Linked DNA regions of Homo sapiens: region 2 is linked to region 1. The links are contacts of gene promoters, found by promoter capture Hi-C in human tissues and cell types (Jung and others, 2019). All regions are on one chromosome and are shown on one strand. The core of a region is centred on a gene start or on the middle of the fragment in contact, and the rest is flanking DNA. Distances in the headings are between cores, read along the strand shown.

Region 1 (4,910 bases), core at 474-2,973:
CCCCAGGGGAAAACAGGGCTGTCCCAGGGTCCCGGCCCCCGGGTGAAAACAGGCTGTCCCAGGGTCCCGGCCCCCAGGGGAAAACAGGGCTGTCTCAGGGTCCCGGGGGAGACGGGGCAGTCTCAGGGTCCCAGCAGTGCTCACAGGACTCACAAGACTGCTCCAGGGTCAGGTCCTCCTGAATTATGGTCATGGGGTCCTGGCCCTCGTCTGTGACCCACTTTAAGGCAGGACCTTCCTGGGGGATCTATTCTGGGGTCCTGGCATTCTTTGGATTCTGCCTGGTCCCTACGTCTGGCCCTCCTCCGTGATTCTTCCCAGGGTCCTAGCCCCCCCGGGCCCTGCCAGGTGGCCAGGTCCGACCCTCCTTGGTGACCCATCTTGGGGTCCCAGCCCTTCTCGGTGACCTGTCCCAGGGTCAGACCCTCCTGGATGATGTGTCATTGTGTCCTAGCACTCTGGGGGTCCTGTGCAATCCCAGAGCCCAACTCTCTTCAGGTCCTGCCTGGTCTGAAGACCCAGCCCTCCCGGGGTCCTGCCTGGGCTGGGGTCGCGACCTTCCCAGGGTCCTGCCTGGGCTGGGGTCCCTACCCTCCCGCGGTCCTGCCTGGGCTGGGGTCTTTGCCCTCACCTGGGTCCTGCCTGGTCTGGGGTCTTCGCCCTCCCTGGGTCCTGCCTGGGCTGGGGTCGCGACCTTCCCAGGGTCCTGCCTGGTCTGGGGTCCCTGCCCTCCCGCGGTCCTGCCTGGGCTGGGGTCTTCGCCCTCACCTGGGTCCTGCCTGGTCTGGGGTCTTCGCCCTCCCTGGGTCCTGCCTGGGCTGGGGTCGCGACCTTCCCAGGGTCCTGCCTGGTCTGGGGTCCCTGCCCTCCCGCGGTCCTGCCTGGGCTGGGGTCTTCGCCCTCCCTGGGTCCTGCCTGGTCTGGGGTCTTGGCCCTCCCGGGGTCCTGCCTGGTCTGGGGTCCCTGCCCTCCCGCGGTCCTGCCTGGGCTGGGGTCTTCGCCCTCCCTGGGTCCTGCCTGGTCTGGGGTCTTGGCCCTCCCGGGGTCCTGCCTGGTCTGGGGTCTTGGCCCTCCCTGTTCTGGGGTCTTTGCCCTCCCTGGGTCCTGCCTGGGCTGGGGTCTTCGACCTCCCGGAGTCCTGCCTGGGCTGGGGTCTTGCCCTCCCTGCGTCCTGCCTGGACTGGGGTCTTGCCCTCCCTGCGTCCTGCCTGGGCTGCTGTCCCAGCCCTCCCTGGGTCCTGCCTGGGCTGGGGTCTTCGACCTCCCGGAGTCCTGCCTGGGCTGGGGTCTTGCCCTCCCTGCGTCCTGCCTAGGCTGGAGTCCCAGCCCTCCCGGGGTCCTGCCTGGGCTGGGCTCTTGGCCCTCCCGGAGTCCTGCCTGGGCTGGGGTCTTCGACCTCCCGGAGTCCTGACTGGGCTGGGGTGCCGGCCCTCCCGGGCCTGCCAAGGGCTTCCCGGGCCAGGCCGACGGGGACGACGGAGCGCGGGCCCGGGGTTCGGAGCCTTCCGGGCCGGACACGGGCCGAGGCCGCAGCCTGAGGAGCGGGCGCCGAGGGCCCAGGCCAGGCGGGGCGGACTCACTGACCTGCGGTCTCGGGGCTGCGGGCGAGCAAGGCGCACGCGGGGTCCGCGCCGGAGGGGGGAGGGGGCGCCGCTCCCTCTGGGTCCCCCCCAAGAGGAGGAGAAAAAAGCCCGTCCGGAGTTTAAAACAAAGAGGCGGAAATGCCCGAGCCGAGCCGAGCGCCGCGTCGGGGGCGCCGCGCTCGGAGCATGCGCGGTGTGCGTCTGGGCTCCCACCCCGCGGCAAGGGGCGTGGGCGGGGCCAGGCGGTAAGGGGTGGGGATAGGGGCGGGGAGGGGCGTGTTCAGAGGGCGCAGGCGCGTCGGGCCTGGACTCGGCGGAGGGAGCCGCGGGGCGCGAGGGCCAGGGGCGAGGCATAGGGCGGGGCCATGAGGGGCGTGGTCAGGAGAGCGACAGGGCCGCGCTGTGCTGAGGGACCCGACGGGTCCTGGACGATCGTGAGCTGGGGCGCTGGAGCAGCAGAGTCCTCAGGCCCGGGTCCCTCCGGGGGTGCCGTCCAGTACGGGTGCTGCTGTCCTTTGTGGGAGCCGGGACTGAGCGCCCTCCCGGCAGGGTTAAGGGTCGGTGTTAGGGTCAGGGGTCGGGTTAGGGGTCAGAGTCAGGGTTAGGGTTGGGTTTAGGTTTAGGGTCAGGGTTAGGGGTTAGAGTCAGGGTTAGGACTGGGTTTAGGGCTAGGGTCAGCATTAGGGGTTAGGGTTAGGGTTGGGTTTATGGTTAGGGTCAGGATTAGGGGTGGGGTCAGGGTCAGGGGTTAGGGTCTGGTCTAGGGTTAGGGTTGGGTTTAGGGTTAGGGTCAGGGTTAGGGTTAGGGTTGGGTTTTAGGGTTAGGGTCAGGGTTAGGGTTAGAGTCAGGGTTAGGACTGGATTTAGGGTTAGGGTCAGCATTAGGGGTTAGGGTTAGGGTTGGTTTTACGGTTAGGGTCAGGATTAGGGGTAGGGTCAGAGTTAGGGGTTAGGTTTAGGGTTAGGGTTGGGTTTAGGGTTAGGGTCAGGATTAGGGGTGGGGTCAGGGTCAGGGGTTCGGGTCTGGTCATGTTTAGGCTTGTATTTAGGTTATGTTCAGCATCAGGACGGACAGGGCACCCACGTGCGGACTCTCCGACCTGGGTGCCCTCCGCCAGGGTGGAGCAGTACGGGCGGCATTTGCGCCTTCGTGGGACTGGCACTGTCCTGAGAGGGCGGGATCCGAGGACCGAGGGCGCGTGCGGGGGTGAGGCGGACGTGCAGGCACGCGGGGTCCTAGGGTCTCCCGGTTTGCGGGTTCTGGGCTGGCGGCCCAGGACGGGAGGGCAGGTTGGGTCTTGGGTGGGAAGCGAGACCACTGTGGTTCCGGGCGGCGGGGCACCGCGCAGTGTGGAGGCTTGGTGGCGAGAGGGGAGGCCCCGTAGGCCCAGGGGCACTCGCTGCGAGGCTGTGCGGTGCAGGCATGGAGCAGGAGTCGGGAGTCATTAGCTCGTCCCGTCTGGAGAGGTGGTGGCTGAGGGAGTGACCCTGCGACTGTCCCCGTGAAGTCTAGAGTTGGACCCCGGGAGCAGCCACCAGGCAGGGGGCCCCGGGCCCAGGTATGGTGCAGCACGTGGGGAAGCGGCTTGAGTCCGCTGCTGAGAGGGGCCTGAGAAGGGCTGGGGGCCTGCTGAGATCTCCAGCACTGGGTGGACACGTTATCCGGGTGGGAGGAGGACAGACAGCAGACATGTGAATGTGTACAGCATTCCCAGGCATGCTGCTGTGAAGGGGAGGGACTAAATGTGGCCACTGCTGCCCCCGGGGGAGGGGAGGCAGGGAGGGCTCCGTGGAGCCATGGGGTGGCCCAGTGCAGGGGAGGGGCCCACTGGAGAGGGCTGCCTGGGATTGGGGTACTGGGGTGCTGGCCCTCCACAAGAGCCCTGACTGCAGTTTTCAGTTGGTGGAGGCAGGCCCCAGATGTGGAGGGGAGGACTGGAGGATCATCCCAGAAGGAGGGCAGGGGCAAGGTATTGGTGCTGGGGTGCAAGGGGCAGGGGGTGGCCAGCAGGCCAGGAACAGTCCTGGGCTGAGTGTGGTGGCCTCAGGAAGAGGCAGAGTGGTAAGCTGCAGTTCAGAACTCACTCCAGGCCCCAGGCCCCTCCTCAAGGAGGTGCAGACCCTACCCCTAGGCTTCCCACTACTCTCCTGGGTGGGTGCCAGCGGTGCCCGGACCTTGACTCTGAGCCCTGGGCTCTTGTGTCCAGCTCTGTTTCTGCTGAATGTCATTAGGAAGCTTAAATGCCACATGGCCGGATGGCTTCCCCAGGCCATCCTGAGTCTGCTGTGTACCCCAGGACCCCCCACCCCCCACCGCCAGTCCTGAGGCAAGACCCCAGAGTCCTCTGCACCCTCTTCCTCTCATGCCCAAACTGGCCATCCATGGCCCATCGGCAGCCAGCCAGGTCTCCCACCTGCACCCTCCTGGGACCTCACTCAGCCAAGGCCCGAGGGTGGAGGCATCGGGGCCAAAGAAGCCTAGGGTGTTGGCAGTGTGTGCTGTCCTGGTGTGAGTTCGGGGTGTGCACATATTACATACAGGCACGTATTCCTTAGCAGAGCTGTAAAGAAGGGAGGCAGGAATCATGGCACAAGCAGACTGGAGTAGAGGGGAGGCCCCTGTCCCCCCCAGAGGGTGCCCCAACCTTCCCCAGGGTGCCGGTCCGCCCTCCCTGCCCACCCAGTCACTAGGGCCTCCTAGGGCCATTGGGTGCCTCTCTGGCAGATCATTCTGGTCACTCACAAACTGGCAGAGGGTCTGCCCATCCTTGAGGATGGAGCAGAACAGAAAGAGCTCGCTGGACCCTGTGCTTCTCTGCTGTCTTCACAGCGTCACTCTTCAGGAACTCTTTCTCCAATTTCCCTCCCCGAGTTCTCTCTTAAGCACATCAGGCATCTGCGCCTACCCCCATGTCTCAACCAAATGCTCCAGGACTTTGTGGGGTAAATCCAACTGCCTTTGTCACCACCCTTTCTGTTGCTGGGGTACAGACATGTGGTCTTGTTCCCAATTGCTCTCTTCTGTTTTCATCAGAAAGTCCTGCCAGCTCTGTCTTGGAAACTTCCCATCATCCAACCATGGCTTTCCAAGGCTGCTCTGGCCCAAACCCGCCCTGTCCTGCTGGAACTGGTGCCACAGCCTTGGGCCCCCCACCCCCAGTCAATCCTCAACAGAGCAGCCAACCAGCGGGTCCCGTCACACCCAAGTGGGAGCGCTCCACCCAGCGCGTGATGATAAGGACGTCCTCTGAGGTCCCTGCTCCCACCTCTGCCTGTTTCCCCAAGCTCACTCCACCCAGAGCTCTCCCTGACACTCACTCACCTTGT
Region 2 (4,679 bases), core at 32-2,531, 360 kb after region 1:
GCCACATGCTTTTAAAAAATAAGATCTCAGGCCGGGCGCGGTGGCTCACGCCTGTAATCCCAGCACTTTGGGAGGCTGAGGTGGACGGATCATGAGGTCAGGAGATCCAAACCATCCTGGCTAACATGGTGAAACCCCGTCTCTACTAAAAAAAAAAAAAAGTACAAAAAATTAGCCGGGCATGGTGGCAAGCACCTGTAATCCCAGCTACTCTGGAGGTTGAGGCAGGAGAATGGCATGAACCCGTGAGGTGGAGCTTGCGGTGAGCCGAGATCATGCCACTGCACTCCAGCCTGAGCCACAGAGCGAGACTCCATCTCAAAAAATAAATAAATAAAAAATAAGATCTCGGGAGAACTCACTCACTATGGCAAAGACAGTACCAAAGGGGCTGGTACTAAACTATTCATGAAAAGCCAACCCTACGATCCAATCATCTCCCTCAAGGCCCCACCTCCAACAATAGGGATTACATTTGACATGAGATTTGAATGGGGACATAGATCCAAACCGTATAATTTACAAAAGTGAAAAAGTGAAAAAATTCAAACATCCTTCAATGAATGAAAGATTTTAAAAGATGTGGCTTATACACGCAATGAAATATTCTTTAGCTTCAAATGAAAATGTCTTGTCAGATGCTACAATAAGGATAAATCCTGAGGCCATTATTTTAGTGAAATAAGACGCTAACAAAGTGACAATGCATGATTCCATTTTTATACAATATTTTAAGTAGTAAGCACATAGAAAGCAGAAGTAGAAAGGTGCTTGCCTATGGTTAGGGTTGTGAAACCTCAGTGGAGCCAGAGATCGAGGGTTATTTAGAATAAGCAGGCCCTCACTCAGATGGCCAACTCAAGAGCCCATAGACATGGCTACAGACAAGGAAATGGCACACTGAGCTTGGTCTTACTGAGGATTCTGAAGCAGTTCTGTAACCTCTCTCAAATTCAATCTCAGCTACAGTCCAGACGTGGTCCTTCCCATCAAGAGACCTGCAGGGAGATACACACCCAGCCATGGCCCTGGAGGCAGGCCTGTATATCCTGGCCTCAGCTGTGCTCCTGAGCCCTGTGACTCAGTTCTAGCCCTCACAGTCACAGTCCATGGCCAGTTGTACACAATCAGGGACCCAAAGAGAAAAGTGTGGAAACTGTTCCCAGGTTGTCAGTAGAAGCCAAACCCATTCATACACCTGGTATTTGGCCCATCATATGCAGACAAACTTCAAAACCCTAGTCTACTGCCTGCCATATAGATTAATATCCTCAAGGAAATCTAATCTCTCCAGGGCCCAGAAATAATCCATGACTGTCCAAATCTCTGGTAATACAATCATCAAAGGCAGACCCCACAGCAGACCCAGCAGCACCCTTGTGACCCAGCTACAACCCTTCTTCTCTGCAACCCCAGAGGTAATCTCATCAGCCTGGGACTCAACAAAAGGAGATCTTTACCTGCCAAAAATAGTTTATACAAACTGTGAAATTTGTCAAATGCAGACACAGGGCTGCTTCAGAGACCACAGCCGGGGACAAGACTTGCAGGCCTGCCTCCAGGGCCACAGCTTCTATCTTAACATGTGACTGGAAGTTTGTATCAAAACAATTAGACAAGGAAAAGGAGAATAAAGCTCTCCAGAGTGGAAAAGAAATAAAAAAGTTACTGTTTGTGGATAATATCATCATGCATATACATAAAACCCTAGAGTAAAATAAGAAAAATTGATTGAACTAATAAATGCATTCATTAAAGTATCAGGATACATAATCAACATATAGATGCTTGTTGGGATTTTTTTTTTTTTGAGACAGGGCCTCACTCTATTGCCCAGGCTTATCTCAAACTCCTGTACTCACATGATACAACTGCCTTGGGCTCTGAAAGTGCTGGGATCACAGAAATGAGCCACTGCACCTGGCACCACATACAAATATTTCTTGCATTTCCATAGAGTAAAAACAAACTTTCCAAAAATAGAAACCATTTCCATTTGCAATAGTATAAAAATAAGAAAGTTAATCAAAATAAATTTAACCAAATGACATAAAAAACATATAGTATTATACACTAAATACAATAAGATATCAATGACAGAAAGTGAAGTAGAAACAAATAAATGGAAACATATTCCATTAGGATAACTAATATTGTCAAAGAATATTATCCAAAGTGATCTATAGATTCAATGTGATCCCTATCAAAATTTTATTGGCATTTTTCACACTAATAGAAAACACAATTGTAAAATTTAGGTGTAACCTTAAACGACTTTTAATAACCTGAGCAATCAATCTTGAGAAAGAACAAAGCTGGGGGCATCATACTTGTTTTTTTTTTTTTTTTGAGATGGAGTCCAGCTCTGTCACCCAGGCTGGAGTGCAGTGGCACAATCTAGGTTCAGTGATCTAGGCTCACTGAAACCTCTGCCTCTTGGGTTCAAGTGATTCTCCTGCCTCAGCTTCCCGAGTAGCTGGGATTACAAGCGCCCACTACCACCCCTAGCTAGTTTTTGTATATTTTTAGTAGAGACAGGGTTTCACCATATTGGCCAGGCTAGTCTTGAACTCCTGATCTCAAGTGATCCGCCCACCTCGGCCTCCCAAGGTGCTGGGATTACAGGTGTGAGCCACCTTGTCTGGCAGGCATCATGCTTTCTAATTTCAGACTTCAAAACAAAGACTGAAATTAAGACATGAAATCTTAAAACTCATGAAGAAAACATATGGAAAAACCTTGTTGATATTGGTCTCGGCAATAACTTTTTTTGAAATGACATCAACAGCACAGCAACAAAATAAAATATAAACAAGTGAGACTGCATCAAAGTAAACAGCCTCTGCACATCAAAGGAAAAAATAAAAACAAAATTTTTAAAAACCCTACAAAATAGAAAAGCATTTGCAAGCCATATCTGATAAGTTAATATCCAGCTGGGTGTGGTGGCTCAGGCCTGTAATCTCAGCACTTTGGGAGGCCGAGGCAGGCAGATCATGAGATCAGGAGATCGAGACCATCTTGGCTAACACAGTGAAACCTCGTCTCTACTAAAAATACAAAAAATTAGCTGGGCATGGTGGCACGTGCCTGTAATCCCAGCTACTCGGGAGGCTGAGGCAGGAGAATCGCTTGAACCCGAGAGACAGAGGTTGCAGTGAGCAAAGATCGTGCCACTGCACTTCAGCTCGGGCGACAGAAATTCTGTCTCCAAAAAAAAAAAAAAGTTAATATCCAAAATGTGTAACAAACTTCTGCAATTCAAAGCAAAAAAGCAAAACAATAATAATGAATAACCCATTCGAAAATAGGCAAAAGGTTAGATTTTTTTTTTTTCCCAAAGAAGAAATACATACAAGGGAAATCTTGTATGCTGGTGGTGAGATGCAAATTGATAAACTTACAAAAATACAGTAAAGAATAAAACTAGGCTGGGCGCGGCCGGGCTCCTTGGCTCACGCCTGTAATCCCAGCACTTTGGGAGGCCGAGGCAGGCGGATCATGAGATCAGGAGACCAAGACCATCCTGGCTAACACAGCGAAACCCTGTCTCTACTAAAAATACAAAAAATTAGCTGGGTGTGGTGGAAGGCGCCTGTAGTCCCAGCTACTCGGGAGGCTGAGGCAGGAGAATGGCGTGAACCCAGGAGGCGGAGCTTGCAGTGAGCCGAGATCCTGCCACTGTACTCCAGCCTGGGCGACAGAGAGAGACTCAGTCTCAAAAAAAAAAAAAAAAAACTTGGCCGGGCGTGGTGTCTCACTCCTGTAATCCCAGCACTTTGGGAGGCTGAGACGGGTGGATCACCTGAGGTCGGGAGTTCGAGACTAGCCTGACCAACGTGGAGAAACTCCGTCTCTATTAAAAATACAAAATTAGCCAGGCATGGTGGTACATGCCTGTAATTCCAGCTACTTCGGAGGCTGAGGCAGGAGAATTGCTTGAACCCAGGACCCAGAGGCTGTGGTGAGCCAACAGCGTGCCACTGCACTCCAGCCTGGGCAACAAGAGTGAAACTCCATCTCAAAAAAAAAAAAAAAGAATAAAACTAGAAGTATCATATAATCCAGCAATACCACTTCTGGGCATACTACCAAAGGAAATAAAATTAGTACCTCAAAGAACTATCTTCCCCTCCATGTTTATTGTAGTACCGTTTACAGTAGCCAATATATGGGGGGGGCGGTGTGTGTGTGTGTGTATACATATATATACATACATGTATATACATATATATATACACACACATACACAGGACACTATTCAACCATAAAAGAGAAGGAAATCTAGCCATTTACAACATGGATAGACCTGGAGGGCATTATGCTAAATGAAATAAGCCAAACACGGAAAGACAAAGAAACTAAATTTTCTCAGTTAGATAGGAAATCTAAAAGCGTAAACTCATAGAAGCAGAGAGCAGAATGGTAGTTGTTAGTGCCTAGGGTGGGAATATGAGATGTTGTTCAAGAGCACAAATTTTTAGTTATAAGTTGAGTAAATCTGAGAAACCTAATGTATATTAGCATTAGATTACCAAAATAGCATTGTATTCATAGTTAATACTATAATGTATGCTTTAAATTTGCTACAACAGTAGGCCTTAAGTGTTCTTACTACCAAACAAAATGGTTATCTAGGTGAAGTAATAGATTTCTTCATGAACTTGACTATATTGTTT

Evidence for each region. The method cuts DNA at HindIII sites, captures the fragments that hold promoters and counts their contacts. A contact is called where the count stands out against the background at its distance.
Region 2: a fragment that was not itself captured here is called in contact with the fragment with the promoter of PCGF3 in region 1 in 1 of the 25 tissues and cell types used here (lymphoblastoid cells).

The regions. Positions count from the first base shown.
Region 1 is chr4:702,645-707,554 of GRCh38, reverse strand. It overlaps PCGF3 (polycomb group ring finger 3), which reads right to left and starts at 1,723. Exons shown (of 11, transcript NM_006315.7): 1 at 1,585-1,723. RefSeq lists enhancers at 1-949, 950-1,935, 2,976-3,703 and a silencer at 1,301-2,000. The HindIII fragment of the contact is 34,476 bases long and covers 1-4,910 here.
Region 2 is chr4:346,399-351,077 of GRCh38, reverse strand. All of the region lies in intron 3 of ZNF141 (zinc finger protein 141), which reads right to left. MIR571 (microRNA 571) reads right to left here and starts at 921; the gene lies at 826-921. The HindIII fragment of the contact is 5,531 bases long and covers 1-4,046 here.